Linked DNA regions of Homo sapiens: region 1 is linked to region 2. Evidence: promoter capture Hi-C in 16 types of primary human blood cells and fetal thymus (Javierre and others, 2016). All regions are on one chromosome and are shown on one strand. The core of a region is centred on a gene start or on the middle of the fragment in contact, and the rest is flanking DNA. Distances in the headings are between cores, read along the strand shown. Region 1 has its middle 330 kb from the start of CWC27. Region 2 holds the start of TRIM23 (tripartite motif containing 23).

The links. Contacts are between HindIII fragments. The CHiCAGO score rates a contact against its expected background, and 5 or more counts as called.
Region 1: a fragment that was not itself captured here is called in contact with the fragment with the promoter of TRIM23 in region 2 in 1 of 17 cell types (naive CD8 T cells); the score reaches 5.6 in naive CD8 T cells.

The regions. Positions count from the first base shown.
Region 1 is chr5:65,101,400-65,105,450 of GRCh38, reverse strand. No RefSeq gene overlaps it. Among named protein-coding and RNA genes, the nearest start is that of CWC27, 330 kb to the right of the region's middle. RefSeq lists enhancers at 1,961-2,461, 2,462-2,962 and a silencer at 2,190-2,479. The HindIII fragment of the contact is 655 bases long and covers 1,894-2,548 here.
Region 2 is chr5:65,622,769-65,626,330 of GRCh38, reverse strand. It overlaps TRIM23 (tripartite motif containing 23), which reads left to right and starts at 1,998. Exons shown (of 11, transcript NM_001656.4): 1 at 1,998-2,137. The coding sequence starts at 2,057. TRAPPC13 (trafficking protein particle complex subunit 13) reads right to left here and starts at 1,304. Exons shown (of 13, transcript NM_024941.4): 1 at 1,225-1,304. The coding sequence starts at 1,270. SHLD3 (shieldin complex subunit 3) reads right to left here and starts at 1,304. Exons shown (of 2, transcript NM_001365341.2): 1 at 1,225-1,304. RefSeq lists enhancers at 1,789-1,868, 1,999-2,328. The HindIII fragment of the contact is 4,327 bases long and covers 249-3,562 here.

The DNA of each region.
Region 1 (4,051 bases), core at 972-3,471, 520 kb after region 2:
TTCAGATTTGTACCATAGGAGTGCTGAAGAGCACATGGGACGGCCAATTTGAGATGCCCAATAAGGGCCTGATGCACAGAAGAAACAGCCAAGCTGGACAGAGATTTGGGAATCATCAGCACTGGCAGGGTCACTGCAGCCCCCGATTGGATGTGATCTTCCAGGAAGAATGGAGAGTGAGAAAAGAGGAGGAACTCTGGGGGCACCAACATCCAAAGGAAGATCAGAGAAAACTAAGAAGTAGCAAGAGAGAGGAAGAAACCAGGAAAGAATCCTATTATTGTGTGAATTATGGTTCATAATGGTTATGAAAGCTAGCACGGAGAATTAAAAAGTGATGGGAAGTGGAAGGGAGAGGACATGCCCTCTAGTTTCTAAGAAGCTCACAATCTGTAAGACCAGATAAGATCAGAATACATCAGCTAACAATGCAAGTAATGTATGACAGGTACCAACATGAGTTCTAGGAGGAGGAAGACAGCAGGAGCATTATGGATTGGGGTAGCCAGGGGAAGTAGGATATAAGTAGACCCTAAAAAGTGGGTAAGACTTGAATAGCTGGACACTGGGATTGGAGAGAGGAAATTCGGGTTAGAGGAATTTCAGGTTGGAGGAATTTCACGCGCAAAGGAGGAACTACACCAGGAGCACTCAGGAGATGTGCTTATGTTGGGGACTGATGACAGATTATTTTAGGAGGGTAAGCTTGGCCAGATGGAGAGGGCTTTGAATGCCAGGCAAAAACACCTGGTAATAAACTTTAGTTAGTAGGCAGCCTTCAAAGGTTTCAGATACTCCCTAAAAGAAACTGACTTGTGTTATTTTCTTACCCCTTCAAAGCATCCCTGTGAGACCAGTCCCTGTTATCTAAACGTATTTTTCTCCTATCATGTCGTGTCTTCCTTTGTTGACTTTATTTCTAAAAATATTAGGTGTGACTCTGACACTTTTGGTATCTGGGACTGCTCAGCAGCTTTCTCTAGCAGGTAGTTAAGTTTTCTTTTCTTCTACCCTATTACTTCCAGTTCCATCCCTCAGGGACCATGAGAAACAATTCCACTTCTCCTTATGTTTATATTCGGAGGATGCTTATAGAGTTTCCACATTCCCTGTGCTTTGAGCTCAGCCAAGGTATACATACTTAATTCTTTTAATCTCTCCCCCTAAGTCACTCCCTGTGGCCCCTTAAGCATCCTAATTGCTCTTCTCTGAAAGGCAGCCAGCTCATTATGTGCATCTTCCTTGGGAGGCAATGAGGAACATAGTATTCCCCGTGTGGTCTCACTAGACTCATATATTACCTCCCAGTTGCATCCCACGACTGGACATGTGGAGCCGCACTCCTTCTGCTCCCCGCTCCCTACAGTGCGCCCTGGCCTCAGTAAATCCCTTATCTCAACAGGTTATCTCCCATTTCCAGGTGGCCTGTTCCAAAGCTTGGAACCTGTGTTCACCACATGTTCAACCCCCAGCTCCCGCCTCAGGAGGTCTCTTACTGGGGAAGGTGGCCCGGAACCAGGACGAGTATCTGTGGAAAATTGCAGCTAAGCTTGCGTAAGTAAACCTTGGAAGAGGAGAGGCTGCGGAGTGCCCAGAATTAAGAGATGCCGCATCCTGCCATGAGCTCCCCGGCCTGCCCGGCTGTGACAGTATTCAACAAGGTGCAACTTGGAGGCTTCGCCTCTGTTTCCAATTATCCCTTTTATCTCTGCTCTAGCCCCTCTCCTTACCTAAGTGTTTTCATAGCTCTCAGTCATTACTGTTTAGCTTTGTGAGGATAAACGTGAAACCAAACAAATTATACATATCCTGTCTCAAGATGTGTTATCACCCTCTGACTAGAAACCCCCAGAAGCCTGCGGCTTTTGAAAGTTCTAGGTTTTTTTTTAAGCTTTGAAAAAAAAATGGTGGCAGAGGTTAAACTGCCTTTGAGAACGCCAAATGTTTGGATTTCAGTGAAGGTTGACATGGAAACCCACCTGAGGCTTCCTCGAGTGTCTCGGGAGGTAATAAAACCCGAGCTGGATGCTCCTGCTGCTGGGGGAGGAACAGCTCCCAGGGCGGCCAGGTGGGGGCGGCGGGGCCTGAGGAAGCTGCCCGGGGCCGCACAAAAGGGAAATCGAGGAGAGGAAGCCAAAAGCCAGAAAGGGCACGACGGGGGCGTGGGTGCGGGTGTCCGGGGAGACCTCGGCCGTCCCAGAACTTTCCAGGGCCCGGGGACCTGCGCCGCCCCGACTGGAAAGTTGGTGTTTTTACTCGAAGCCCTTTCTCTGGGCAGTTTAATAACAAACAGCGGCCGCAGCAATGGCGTCCGCGCCGGCAGCGTCGGGGCGCCCGGAGGCGGGGCGCGGCGGGGCGGGACTCTCCTCCCGCTCGGGCCCGGGGCGACCGGCGCACCCCACAGCCGCTCCCGGCGGCCGCCGAGGCGAGGGGCGGCAGAGAAAGGTCGGGAGCACTGAAGCACCGGGGTTGCCGGAGGCGAGGGCACCCAAGTTTATGCAGCTTGGGGTGGACGCTCGACTGCTGAGCTGCAAATACACAGAAAGCTTTGCCCACCGCTCGCCCCGTAGGTTCATCGCTTTATTCCCATCTACACCCAGGCACAGGAGAACTAAAGTGAAGAGAATTATCTTATGTTGGTTTCTTGGGGAGGAGGCGTGTGGAGGGGAGAGAGCCCTCCGGGAGAGACGAGGGAGAAAGGCAGAGGGAACCCATAGGGAGAGGAAGCAGGACGCCAGTGCTGCTTCCTAACACCTCTCTTTGTCTCCATTCAACACGGATTCCTCCCCATGGTGGGCCAGCCTTAGAGGACACATTCGTCTTTGCCCCCAAGGCCACCACAGACTCTGTGTTTCTACCCTGAGTACTAGAGGATGCCCTAGAAAAGAAATCTTGAGGACCTCTCTCTTTGAGACTTTGAGGGCCTCCACCTTCCAGCCACTGTTTCGTCCAAATCTGGGTTATCCATTCAGTAAAGGGTTGCCAGCTGAAATACAGCACACTGAGTTCCATATGAATATCAGATAGACAACGACAAATTTTGAGCATGAGTATGACCCACACAAAAATTCGTGTGCGTTTGTTTTATTAACTCTAGCAATCCTAATTCAGTACGTATTTCTGATTCTTCTTCAATTCCCGTCCAGACAGCAACCCTCTGAGACAGGAAGGGAGCGTGCTCTCACCAGGCACCATTTCCTGCCTCTCCCTCGGTCCCCTCTAAAATTGGTAAACCTCAGGTGTTTTCTAGGGAAGTCCCACCGTAAGTGGAGAAAGAATAAAGATGGGAGTAGAGATCAGGGGTGAAGTAGTTTAAGGTCACCTAACCAAAAATTGGAAATTTCAAACGCAAGAGCTGAGTTCTCCTTTATTGGAGGAATTAACAAGATGTGCTGTGAACATAAGAGTTAAATAGTAGTCGCCTTTTGTAAGCAACTCTAACAGAGGTTTACATTTGGGATTAATAGTAAACTCCCCAGGCCTTACTGACAGAAGAATGTAGTTGCCCAAATAAACAATGTTTTGATCGGGACTCGAGACCAACCCTCCGAGCACTCAGCCTCTTCCTAGCAGGAGCATTTCCCAACTCTGAAGTAATTTGTAATGTGCTGGGAAAACATTTTCAAAAAATGGATATCTAAGATACCATAAAAGGGAAAACAGTTCTCGCTTTTGAAGTAAGAAATACCATTTGCAGTAAAATTTCTTCCGTTTGCATTTCTGAATTATGTCTTGATAAAGCTAGGCTTACAGTGCCCGAGTGCTGCCTCCGACCTAGTAAGGAAGAGTCTAATGGAACAGTGTGGGTCTGGGGTTTACTGTCCTCTAAATATTATACTGTCTTCTTGGTACATAAAAATAAGAATACCTCCCAATGATGGGATTACTGTAACTGGCCTTTACTTCCCACTGTAGGCTTCCTGGAACTGGCCTTTCAGACTGGAAGACCCCTCAGCACAATTTTGTCACACCGTCTCTCAGCGGCCACTGTTCCTTCAAGGGTAGAAAAAGTTAACATTTCCCAATAGCACTTTGACTAGAAACATGAATG
Region 2 (3,562 bases), core at 749-3,248:
TAGGAGGCAACACGGACTCTTGGAAAGAGAGGCAGGCCTTGCGTTGAAACACTGCCTCAATCACTAGCTATGTGATCTTGGAAAAGTTACTTAAACTCTGAGAATTAATATTTACTCCACATACTTGAAGTGAGATTGTGAGATAAAGAACACGACAATTAGTTGCTTTTCTTCTTTTCCCTCTTCTCCACGAGTAACAATCCATTTTAATCTCCATTTTAGTCTAGATCATTTGCTCAGGTTAAGCTTACAGGTCCCATCACTGTATCACTAAACATTACAAAGTTCCACAGTAAGAGACAATCTCGCTAACACAGGCATCATTATATGAGACTGATGAGCTTCTAGAAAGTCTGATGACTACATCATAATGGGAAGGATAAGGCGTTCCTCAAAATGGATGCCATAAGTAAAGTAAGCGCAATTCAATTGAACCCGAATGTTTATTGAGCATTTCCTCAGCTCATTCAAGAAGTCATTGTTAACCATATATTAAGGCATCCAAGAAACAAAAAGCGCATTTGTTGTAGTAAAAAACAAATAAAATAAAGCTGAAAAGATTTCAAATAAAAGGTTTCCAGAAAATAGGCATTAAAAAAATTGTCCTAAAAAAAAAAGTGCTGCTGTTTTTTCCTAAATAATGATCTAATTAAATCACCAAACTTACTCAAAATGGCTGTGTACAAAAAATGAGAGTTGACATTAGATCTCGGACATATTTCCCACATACACAGTGATTTGAAGTAAACTGCAGTTTGTTTTGAATAAATCTAAGTTATATGTTGTATTACTATGTATTGCTAAATTCTCTGCACTACTGTCATGCAATACTAATTTTACAGGGGAAGCTGAAGCCTGATTAACTTCGTCAGTGCCACAGGAAGAAACAAGAGACAGAAGGAAAAAGCACTTTGGATGCCCGCTGTAATTCACAGAGATCTCCACGGTAGGAGCGGGACGTCAGCTTCTGCGGCTAAAATCTCGTGACTGAAGCAGCACAGATCAGAAAGAACGATTTACCAGGTATCTATTTCGTTCTAGAAAGGGGCCCATAAACCTAAAAAGCATCCAGGAGAAATCGCTTCCTCCCGCTTGGCGGCAAAGGACAGAGCAGGAGGGCGAGCACTGAGTGTTTAAGAAGGATGAGGCCTACATGGCAAAGGCTTCGATAAGTAGGGAATGCAAGGAAACAGAAAAGGGGGAATCAGGTTCGCAAAAGTTTACCTTTTAGCGCCAGCAGGTGCTCCTGTTTAGGGGGATTCACTTCCATTTTGACCGGCACTTTTGACCCACAGCCTACGGGGGCTGGACAGGTTCAACTTGCCCCGGAAGGAAACGGAAAACCTCGCGTTTGGCAAAACCAAAAGTCAAACGCACTCTCAACCTCTCTCTGGTGGTGGTACCTTAAATTCTCCTACTGTGTCCTTTACAAACTGGCTTCTTTTCAACAAGTCCATTTCTTCTATCTTAGAAACGTAGGCATAAAATACTTTGTTTTCCATCTGCAATCACACATCGCGACTGCAGGAAAAGAAACCACCCCTAGGTAACAATACGCGGCCTCCCAAAGGCCAACGTTGCCGGAGTTTTTTTTTTAAAAAAAAAAAAAAAAAAAAAAAAGAGAGAGAGAGAGAGTGGCATGCTGGGATTTGTAGTTTATACAAAAACCGCGTTGCATGCAGGGAGATGCCCGTACCCCCTCACCGCCCTCAGTTCACGCCCTGGCTGGTTTGGATTCGAGAGGAAAAATCATTAAAGGATCTGGAGTTTTCACCCCAAAACTTTAATCGTTTTGTCCCTTCTTTTTTTTTCTTGTCTTTCCTCCAGCAGCTGCAGACTACATAATGAAAAATAACAAAAGTGCCCATGCGCGAGGCTGTGCAACTAACCACCCGACGATTGCGGGGAGGAGGAGTAAGAGTCGGCTAAGCGGCGCCCAGTGTCCTACTGCGCCTGTGCGCCGGTGGCGTGCGCAGAGGCCTCTGGGTAGGTGGCTCAACCCCGCCTCTCAGTTGAGGACTCTGAAGGCTGTTTCTGTGGCGCTTCCCCTGCGAGGATGGCTACCCTGGTTGTAAACAAGCTCGGAGCGGGAGTAGACAGTGGCCGGCAGGGCAGCCGGGGGACAGCTGTAGTGAAGGTGAGGGACCTTGCGTGCTCTATTCTCCACCATCGGCCTCCCTTCGGTTCATCCTGGAGACCTGGCGGCATCGCCGCGGCCCAGGCTTCGATAGGTGGGATGCGCGGCCTCTGGGCCCCTTTTGGCATTACAAGTCTCGTCCTGTCCTCTGCATCCTTTCTCTCCTATGGCCTGAAATTGCCTGGTCTTCTGCTCATGACATGTCATCATCGGGACATTTGTGAAAAGGAGCTTGCGGGCCAGTGGCAGTGACCTAGACCGGTCTTTTCTCCAGGTCCTCTGCTTTTAGTTAAACTCAACAGACATTAATTAGCTTAGTATTATAAATTGAGTCATCATCATCGTAACTACGTACTAAGTTAGGTGTTTTAGCTCGTTAATATCTACTTATGAAGTAGATGTGAATTCCCATTTTACAGGGAGGAAACCCAGGTTTAGGTAAACAGTGTGTGGCAGAGCCCCGGGTTGACCGGCTTTAAAGTCTGTACTTTTCGCTCTTGTACTGCGTCTGTAATCAGACATCTGTTATTGGGTGAGCTGCCCCCTCCCCTGTTAGTAGTACAGTCTATTAACTCTTTGCACAAGTCTGCAGCATCGTCATAGCTGGGCATTAACGATAGAGTTTATGAATTTTCTTATGCTTGAAGTTTGAGATTCTACCATGTATACATGCTCCAGAATCAATTTGCTAAAAAATCATTTGAAATATGTGGCACTCATTTTTCCCTTCCACTGTTGTGCACGGAAAGATATGGAGGGGAGAACTGATCCCATTGGTTTATAGAGTAACCTTCAGGAGCATCTCTAATCTAAGAGATTGATAATTCTCATTCCTGGCTACATATTAGGATCACTGAGGAGTTTTAGTACACTACTGATGCACTCCTCCTCCAGTTCTGATGAGGTTGACATCAGTATATTTTAGGAATTACCAGAAGTTATTTTAATGTGCAACCAGGGTTATGAATTACTGATCAAGGTAATATATGAAGTTTTTTTCACATCTTGAAAAGTAGACACCTATGATTATTCAGGTAATGTTGGTTTTATATGACAGCAAATGAGACATTTCTTCCCACAATTTAGTATCAGTGAATATTGGTGGTTGTTGATTCAGATGACCTTTAGGTACTAATGAAGTTATTCTACAGGTACACGGCATATCTGATATGCAAAGGAGCCCTCATTATTAGGCATGTTGTGTGACTGAGATTTTATTTATTGAATTGTGCTTTTGCTAAGTAGAGAATACTTGAAGAGCAGTTTGTGAATTAACTTGAAGTTTAAGTTTTATTTCATAATTGGAATGGGTATCATTGCAGTATCTATTTTTTTGTTACCCTGTTTGCCTTACAGTCTCAAAAGTGTACCAAAGCCTGATGTAACTCCAGTTTCTTACAGCACAGAATTTGATACATTGGAGGC